Regions from separate parts of the Homo sapiens genome. Here region 1 is linked to region 2. The links are contacts of gene promoters, found by promoter capture Hi-C in blood cells and fetal thymus (Javierre and others, 2016). All regions are on one chromosome and are shown on one strand. The core of a region is centred on a gene start or on the middle of the fragment in contact, and the rest is flanking DNA. Distances in the headings are between cores, read along the strand shown.

Region 1 (4,810 bases), core at 1,682-4,181, 42 kb after region 2:
TGAGACACAGCCGGCGAGTAGATTAAGAGGAGATGGTCCTTTGCTGTCAGGACCCTGGCAGGCCCAGTGTTGGCATAATAGAATCAGGCTCTGAATTTCACATCACTGGCCAAGGGCTGTTGAAGGAAAGCCAGGTGCCTTGGTTGCTAAATTCAGAGTGGGATGTCTGGTATGGAGTAAGAGAATGAGCCTAGGCTCTGTGCACAGAGCAGAAATGCATGGAGGCTGAGCGAGGTTGGGAGGCAGAAAACTGTGATCGTCACTGAATCCACTTTTAGTCTTTCTAAAGCTGCAGAATTGCTCCTGAGTCTGGCCTCCTGTCCCACCAAATATGATCTGTGACTCTACTCAGGATTCTCTCCCTACTCTGCTCCTGAGGACCAGGGCAGAGGCCAGCCCTGCTAGATAACCCACGTCCACCCCCGGGGCAAAAGGACCCATGGAAAAGTTCCAAGAGCATGAAATCAAATTGCACCTGCCTCCAGCACACTTCCACTTCAAAACGTACCCGGGGGGAAGCATGGCAGTGAGGAGAGCAGAGGAACTGGACCATGGCTCTGAGATCCAGGGAAGCCTCCCCTCCATTAGACAATCTTCTGTCTCTGTTCATCATAATTAAAATGGAGATGGTATATAGAAAACCTTCAGCTGCTGTTGACGAATTAACATTTAGGGTGAAGGAAAGTGACATGTAACTACAAATAATAGCTGCTCTATGGAGAGAGAGAGAGTGTGTGTGTGTGTGTGTGTGCACATGTGTGCCTGTGTATGCAAGCACACGCCCTTGTTTACCTGCCCCATCTCTTTCCTGTGTTTGTCTCCTCCGTGCAGTGTAGGTAATGGTGTGTGCAGTGTTCTCAGGAGCACTTGGTAGGTGACTATGTTCCACCTTGCATGTGCTACTCCTTCACATTTCCCTTTAATGCTCTCCATTATTCGGGCTGCATTAATAATGTTTGTGGGCTGATATCTTTAAAATTAATGAGGTGTTTACTCCTAGCCAAGAAACTCATTGAAATTTAAAAAAAAAAAAAGCTTGCTTGCTTTCCTTCCCTTTTCCTTACAAGAAAAGTGGACAAACAGGCCACAATGCAAGCTTTGCTTAAAACCAAGCAGGATTCTAGGCAAGAGCCCAAAGCCCACCATCAGGAGGGTATGAGTTGCGATTATACTAGCCAGCATTATACATTAGTCAGGTTCAAACCACAACTGTGTCTAAGAGGCCCAGATTTAACAAGAGCTTTGCTGGAAAGCTGTATACACCTTTAACCAATTAAGGGATACCTGTAACCTCAATAATAGTTTCTTTCTTTCTTTCTTTTTTCTTTCTTTCTTTCCTTCTTTCTTTTTTCTTTCTTTCTTTCCTTCTTTCTTTCTTTCTTTTTTTCTTTCTTTCCTTCTTTCTTCTTCCATCCTTCCTTCCTTCCTTTCTTTTCTTTTGACAGAGTCTCCCTGTGTCACCCAGGCTGGAGCGCAGTGGTATGATCTTGGCTCACTGCAACCTCCACCTCCCGGCTTCAAGCGATTCTCATGCACACACCACTACACCCAGCAAGTTTTTGTATTTTTAGTAAAGATGGGGTTTTGCCATGTTGGCCAGACTAGTCTCGAACTCCTGACCTCAAATGATCTGCCTGCCTTGGCCTCCCAGAGTTCTGGGATTACAGGCATGAGCCACCGCACTCAGCGAATGATAGTTTATTTCTTCACCTCCCCTTAGCATATCCATTGTACCAGAGCACCTTAGTCTAGTCTAAGTTTTCCTTCTTATTCCAAAGGTATATTTTTAGGATAATTCATCTTGTGTGCAGTCCTGACCTGCCTGTGGTTTCTATTTTTCAACTGAATCCATTACTTGGCATGAAGGACCACCATTCCCTCACTACCACCACCACTAGCTGACTTTTTGCAGAAAAGAAGAATGCACTGCTGAATACTAATGATGTAGTTTACCAGTTGTGTGAAATTGTTGCAGACCATGTGTCAAAACAGTTTCCCAGGGGGCCAAAGATGGGACAATGGCTGCCTCTGGAGTACAAATCAGCGGGCTTCACTGTCCTGTACCCCACCATCCCCTAGTTTCATGCCGGACAAATTTCCCTATGAACAATGCAGCCAAGGGCTGCATCGGAGGAGTGTGGGTTCCCATCATAATTTTGAGGGGGTTAATTGTTCCCTCTGATCCAGAAGCTACCAGTGGTCTCTGTGGGTCTTATTGGCTAATCCCTTAAGATATTCAAGTTAATAATATTATCGTATTATGCATCTGCATCTGGAATTAGTTGATAATTTACTCAATAAAAAAAAAATAGGACAATAATGTTGATGAGAAAGTCTTCCCAATTTGTTGTTGTTGTGTGTGGGTTTGTCTGTGTTTTTTCTGAGTAGCAATTAGAAGCCATAATGTAAGTGTGTGTGGAAAGATTGGAGGATTCCTGCTGCAGGGCATGCTTCAGGCCTCTGGTGTCTGAATACCAGGCCTCTGGTGTCTGTTATCTTCTGGAGGGGCCCAGCATCTCCCACTGAACCTCTGCTCTGTGAAATGCTGGAATGCAGGTGGATGCTCAGAGCCCGCTGAAGTCCCTGTTCTTGGGTGATAATGAATGAGAACATGCAATAGAGCAGAAATTCCTTGGCCCAAGAGAGAAGGCCAAAGGCTGGGGAGAAGCGGGCAACGGGGACAGGTAGTAAAGAACCTACATTAAACTGAATCTGTGCAAATCCTCCAGCGCTGCTCTGCAGGATGCTGTATGTGGAGGACACAGATAGAAGTTCCCACTCACTGTCATTCAAAAACGCCTTTTTGTCATGCTGAATGTCTTCTGGGCTCCTCAGAAAGGCCAGGTCTACGTCTTCCACTGCAAACAACACAAACAATTGACTTTCCCAGAGAGAAAGAGATGCCAACATCCACCCACTTTTCCAGCTCCCAATTCGAATCCTTCCTCGTTCTCCTGCCCCCATAGGCACAGTCTCCTTGGCCTTATTTGAATTAGGGGGTAGGGATGTGGAATAAAATCTTTCTAGTCATAAAAAAACAACAACTGTGAATTTATGGCTTGGAATACACTCTCTGTAGAATGATGGAGCTTGCCTGCGATTTCTATAATATTATCCATGGCAGTAGAGGCCTAACACTGTTTCCAAAACAACTATGGGGGCCTACAGCATCATACTTGGTCTGGATTACAGCAGGAGCCAAAAAACCGCAAGAAGAGATTCCAATTTTTAAATAGCCAATTATCTGCAAGAATAAAATAGACCTGAAGGATAGTATAATATCATTTCACCTATGTGCACCAACCTAGCATTAATGGGTATCTCTCATGGTTTACCTGTATGCAGAATGCTCTTGAAGGTCAGGCTGCAATTCTGGACATCAAATGGAAAAGCATATGTCTCTAAACTGCACGCAGAGACCACCTGGATGGGCTTATAGTTCTCAATGGTCCCAGATGAGTTCACATAAACATAGGGAAGGTCAGGGTATCTTTCAATGTCCACACTATATGAAACACAAGAGAACTTGTTGTCACAGAGAGGATGTTGGTCATTTCAAAACATAGGCTGATTAGGAGATGGTAGTGACCATGAGGTCCAGGACCAGCCTAGCCCTGCAAAACAGAATCGCATTTTCCATGAGATGATTCACCCTGGCAAAGATGAGCTTTTCAGTGACAGCCTCGTAAGTTAACTCATTTGCTGCTATAACAACACAGACATAATGAGTAACCTCAACATTAGTAACCAGATCTGTATCTTAAATAATGTCAACACATGGCACTTCTAACCTGAATACTCCCAACAATATGCTCCCCTTCAACTTGAGAAGCAAAAATGAGCAACACTGACTGAAAGTAAGCAGCAACTGGCCCGACTATACCAAGCAGTCTAAACCCCACAGAAATACACACTGGCACACTTACAACTCATTGATGATGATATCGGGGGCCCAGATGGCACTTAGAGGTAGGGAGATCTCTCTAATCTCATCAAACATGCTGGAGTTCCAGGATAAAAATTCATCATTCCAGACCTGTTAGTAGTAGCCAAAAAGAAAACTTATCAAAATGGGGCAATATCTACTTCGCTAAAGAACTAAAGAGGCATTTGGATTAATAATCCAATTTATCAGCCTCTTGGTTCTACCTGTTAGGAGAAAGGACTTCCCATCTGAATCCTAAAGATGGTAGTCCCAACCAGAAACCAGGGCCATACATCTTAAATGAATTATAATACATTAGGTCTGCTGCAGATCTAAGAAACTATAAATACAAAGATAATACCTATTTCTTAAATAACTATATTTTGCAGCAGATCCAGATCAGGAGTGCAATATATTTAGAAGAAAACATAATTATTTACCTCTTGGTACCATACACTTGTCTTTAATATTTGATTCTCTGCATCCTGCAAGGCAAAAAGAAAATCCACTCCAAATCTTAGAATGTCAATAAATCAAAGGCCAATTCAGCAGTAAGGAAATTCAGAAGAAGAAAATCAAATCTAACCAAATAATGCTGATATTAAAAACATTACCTAGACTCTTCAATACCTAGGCATTCTCAGTTCTTACTTATTATGCACACCTGTCGCTATGAGCTTTACTATATTATCTATGACAAAACGGCACTTTGCCTGCCCTTGACATCTTGAATGATTTGCTAATCTCTTTCCCACTCTAATTAGTTACTCTACCATTAATCAGACTAAAAAATGTTACGTTGTCTTAGTAATTTTGGGCTAAAAAGATGAGACCAAGCTTTGATTTGTAATCAAGATATTATTCATAATCTTTCAATGAGTGTTA
Region 2 (4,643 bases), core at 795-3,294:
ACAAGCTATGGGTGGAGGGCTGGCCCAGTCCACCTCCTAGGGTTGCTGTATGGGCAAACATGATGGGCTTAGATAGGTGGTTGGGGCGAGGTGTGGAGGGAGTGAGAAGAAATCAAACGACTTCCGGGGTAGGTGGCCTATGGGGACAAACCAGTAATGAGACAGCCCAGCTCCTGGACCCTGGTGCTGTTCTATGAAGATTTCATGCACAGCTCAGTTTTCACACTGGAAGCAGCAGGAGCACTTCCAGAAGGGTGGCCTGACATGCAAAAGTGAAAATTCATGGGACGGTGAAGGGAGTACAACCTAGAGGGCCAGCATACGGGCAGCAAAGGGGAGATGGAGCTGGCAGGTAGCCAGGGTCTTTCACTAACCAGGTGCTGGCAAGGCCTGGCTTTTGCTAAACAAGACTGTGTCTTCTCTCATCTAGTGTGCAACCTGTACAACAAATCACTCCTGCAGATTCCCCCTCCTTTCACCCCCTTTTCCCTGATAAGCTACTGGCTTCCCTCAGAAGGACAGAGAAGAGCAGAGAGAACACACACACACACACACACACACACACACACACACACACACAAACTATTTTTTAAGTGTCTCCTTTGGAATAACATCAATAAACATATTCTTCATTTAACTTTAGAACAGTCCACCAGAGTGGCTATTTGCACACAAGGATCCCCAAGCACCAGAAAGGTGAGCACCTTGCTCTGCAAGTGGAGGAACTGAGATTCAAACGCAGACCCGTGTGCGTCTTTACTACACCAGCAAGAGCCTGGGTCCTATTGACTGGGATCCTGACCAGCTTGGAGAGCACTGAACTCATCCCAGCAGGCCCGGGGCAAAGGACCATTGCTAGGAGGGACAGAGTTTCTTCTCAGTCAAGGAAGCCCTCGACCACAGTCATCACTTACAGCTTGCGTTTGCTTAACCCACGGAGCACTCCCAAACGACCGCTCCCGGGAGGAAGGACATCTTACCCAGAGCTCTTCACGTCTGTCCAACCCCTGGATGGCTTCCTCTAATTGTGCCCCAGTATGCTCCACCCCAGCTCTGTAGGGAGAGAAACCTCCTAGAGGGGAATGAACATGGTCTGCAGCAAAAGGAAGCCGGTCCCTTTGTGGCTAAAACACCCTACATTCAAGGGAGTCAGGAGAAGATGGGTGTAGCGAATGTGGAGAGAAATTGGGCGTTACTGGAGTTTAGTCCTGGAAAGGAACTTGGGGAACCGCAGGCCCAGAGAACGAACTCATGCAACAAAACCAGTGAAGCTGAGGAAAGAGGACTAGACTAGTTCTGGTCCCCACTCTGCTGCTAACAAGCTGTGTGACCTTGAATGAATTATCCGCTCCCCACTCTCTGGGCCACAGCATTCCCATTTATAACAGGCAAGGGTGGACCCAATGAGTTCTAAGGTCCCTTGCAGCTTTCATTCAAATAGTTTAGGGAAAGGACAAAAAGGAGAGGAGCCCCCTCCTGGTGCCTGTCTTTTTATTTCTGATACGCCAGGCTACTTCTCTGCTCCCTTCTTTGCAAGCTCCGCTCTTGCCCCACCCCAGGACTCAACATTCCTAACTCTCTCTAGCTTAACCATGATGCCTCAAATGCTGTCATGCTCATAGGTGGTAAGATAGCTGACCTTCCTGCAGCTGCACTGTTCCCCACCCTCCTCTCCACAGCCCTCGGAGGACTGAAGCATCCCCTGCCCCACCTCAGCAGATGGTCAGCCAAGTCCTGCTGCTTCCCGAAGTCTGCTTACCTTCTCCCTGTGCCAGGAGTGTGGGGAGGAGCAAGGCGAGCAGCGCCTGCTGGACCCACAGCAGCATAGCGAGCTTTCCAAGCATAGGAGTGCCTCCGAGTGCTCAGGACGAGGCCCACCAAGGGCCAGCTTGCCTGCCCTCTGCCAACCTCATGTCCCAGCCAGCCTGCCTCTCGTGGCCACTGCTCACACCTTCTGAGGCTGCAGCCTCACACTCCCTGGGCCACCAAGGTTGGGGAGCTGCCAAGTTTTCCTGCAATCAGTCCTTCAGCTGGATCATGTTTCAGGCGGGAGGAAAGGGGAGGGGACAGCTGAGAGGGGAGCCCGCCCTAGCTGATGTCATGCTGTGGGAGCTCAGTCCACCCATTCAGCCAGGGGGCTTGGCCATGTTTCCCCAAGGAGTAACTTAGGTGGGGACAGGGGCTGCAGAAGCCCATGAGACAAGGGTGCAGCCTGACCCCTGGGAGGTGCACCACGCTGCTGCTTTCATTGATGTCCCTTGGCAAGTATGTTTCTGTGGCACTGGGCTGGGGCAGGATAGGGTGAGTCAGGCAGGAGCAGGAAGACCATTCTTTTACTCCCCAGGGTGACATAACCAAGCAGGTGACTGGGCACCTCTGTAGTTACGGGAAGGGTAACTGGAGTCACCACAGGTCTGCCCTTTTGTCCTCATCTAATTAGTTATACTTAAATAGTAAAATATATATTAAAAATAATAAAATATATAATAAAAATAAACTTTTACTATACATATTTATTTCATGCATTCTTGCCATACATAATAAATACATATAGTAAAAATAATAATAATACATGCACTTTGTAGAAAAATATGAAGAAAAATTAAAATCATCTGTAAACTTATGACTCAGAGACAGCCACTCTTAACGTTTTGGTATATATTCTTCCATAATTTTCTTCAGTAATGTGTATACAATGAAGTAAATATCACATACATATAATTTTGTGCCCTCTTTTTTTGCTTGATATCATTTCGTAAGCATTTCTTTTCTTTTCTTTCTTTCTTTTTTTTTTTTTTTTTGAGACAGAGTCTCGCTCTGTCACCCAGGCTAGAGTGCAGTGGCGCAATCACTGCTCACTGCAGCCCCAACCTCCCCCATCTCAGCTGATCCTCCCATCTCAGCCTCTTGAAGAGCTGGGACTACAAATGCGAGCCATGCCTGGCTAATTTTTGTATTTTTGGTAGTCCCCCAAAGGGACTAGAGGCATGAGCAATCACACCTGGCCTCGGAAGCATTTTCAATACCTTCCTCTTAAATGGAAGCGTCTTTCTTGAAAGAAGTGTTTCTTTCTTCATTGCAAGTTAAATAGACAAGTATCTATCCCTCAGGCCTCAGCTGTGTACCCCTAAAGTTGCCTGCAAGAAGAATTACTGTGCATTTTTATTTGAAGGAGTCCTACCCTAGCTCACCATTTGGGTAGATGTCCCCGTACCAATCAAGTTAAGTATCAACAACAAAACATTTTCTTCCTTTTTAATTTATTTTCCACTTGACTCTAAGTGTGGAATAGGCTAGGAACCCTGCAGTAAGGAGGAATTTTCTGAATTGTAGGTAAGTTAAAAAGAAAGAAAAAAAGAAAGAAACTACCTTGGTCAGGGCTGCATCCTTTCAGTTCTTATTCCTGTGCATTATGAAATCTGCATAAAGCATTATACCATTCACCATTGGGGTCCTTTCCTGTGGCCGTTAGCGGGGTGTGGTTCTGCAACGTGCAGTCAAGTTCAGGGAGCCTGGGCTACTCTTCTCTTAAGTCATGTGCTTCATCACTGCACAATCCAGAAAAACATGGACAATTAGCTCCAAGCATTTCCCTCAGGGGAATGGATATGAGGGCAGTGAATAGAAAGAGGGCCCCAAACTTTTAGAGAATTTATAGAGCCAGACCTCCCCAGAATTCCAGAATGAATGTCCTCAGACCTGAGGTTTGACAGCAGGATAAAGCAAGGCAAGAAGAACCAGGCTGCCTCCTAGGCCACCAGGCTGAGGTCTTGAATGGGGCCCAAGCAGAACACTATAGATTCCTAAATGCATCTTCAAGCCCAACAAAGATTCTTTTTTCTTTTTTTTTTTTTTTTGAAACAGGATCTCACTCCATCACCCAGGCTAGAGTGCAGTAGCATGATCACAGCTCACTGCAACCTCAATCTCCCTGGCTTAGGTGATCCCTCCACCTCAGCCTCCCAAGTAGCTGAGACTACAGGGGCATGCTATCATGCCTGGCTAATTTTTGTATTTTTAGTAGAGACAGGGTTTTGCCATGTTGCCCAGGCTGGTCTCAAATTCCTGGGCTCAAGCAATCTGCCCGCCTCGGCCTCCCAGAGTGCTGGGATTACAGGCATGAGCCACTGTGCCTGGCCAACAAAGTATTTAAGCTCCCACTGACGTCTAAGTGGCCATTAGCACTTAGAAATCTGAAAATTTCTAGACGACTTTCTCCTCCTGTTTATGTGCATTATGAAATCTGCATAGAGCATTATGCCATTTGTTGATGGGGTCCCTTCATACAGCCATAAGCTAGGGTTTGGCCTTTAGCAGTAACAAACCCATTTGGGGTTGCCATTATAATCATTTCCTCATTGAAGAGCGAATAGAACTTAATTGCTCCCCTGACACAACCTAACCACTACCACAATGCTCCATTTTGTATTTGGGGTGTTTGTGTATATCCACGAGGGCCTCCCTACCTCTTGCTCCACACCTAGGCTGGTATGGCCTGGGGCCCATTCCTCCCACAGAGCTGAACCATTTGGAGACAGCTGGGAAGAAGCATTAGAAATTGAACTTGTTCTGAAAGGACAGCACCAAAGCGGGAGGGAATGGAGCACAAAAAAAGTGAAAGGTAAAACAATATTTTCACAGTT

The links. The method cuts DNA at HindIII sites, captures the fragments that hold promoters and counts their contacts. A CHiCAGO score of 5 or more calls a contact.
Region 1: a fragment that was not itself captured here is called in contact with the fragment with the promoter of HTR3A in region 2 in 1 of 17 cell types (total B cells); the score reaches 5.4 in total B cells.

What each region holds. Positions count from the first base shown.
Region 1 is chr11:113,930,984-113,935,793 of GRCh38, reverse strand. HTR3B (5-hydroxytryptamine receptor 3B) reads right to left here. Exons shown (of 9, transcript NM_006028.5): 3 at 4,366-4,410; 4 at 3,927-4,036; 5 at 3,336-3,505; 6 at 2,701-2,858. Among named protein-coding and RNA genes, the nearest start is that of HTR3B, 29 kb to the right of the region's middle. The HindIII fragment of the contact is 3,666 bases long and covers 1,099-4,764 here.
Region 2 is chr11:113,972,509-113,977,151 of GRCh38, reverse strand. HTR3A (5-hydroxytryptamine receptor 3A) reads right to left here and starts at 2,044. Exons shown (of 9, transcript NM_000869.6): 1 at 1,760-2,044. The coding sequence starts at 1,826. RefSeq lists enhancers at 1,160-1,819, 1,820-2,481. The HindIII fragment of the contact is 9,568 bases long and covers 1-4,643 here.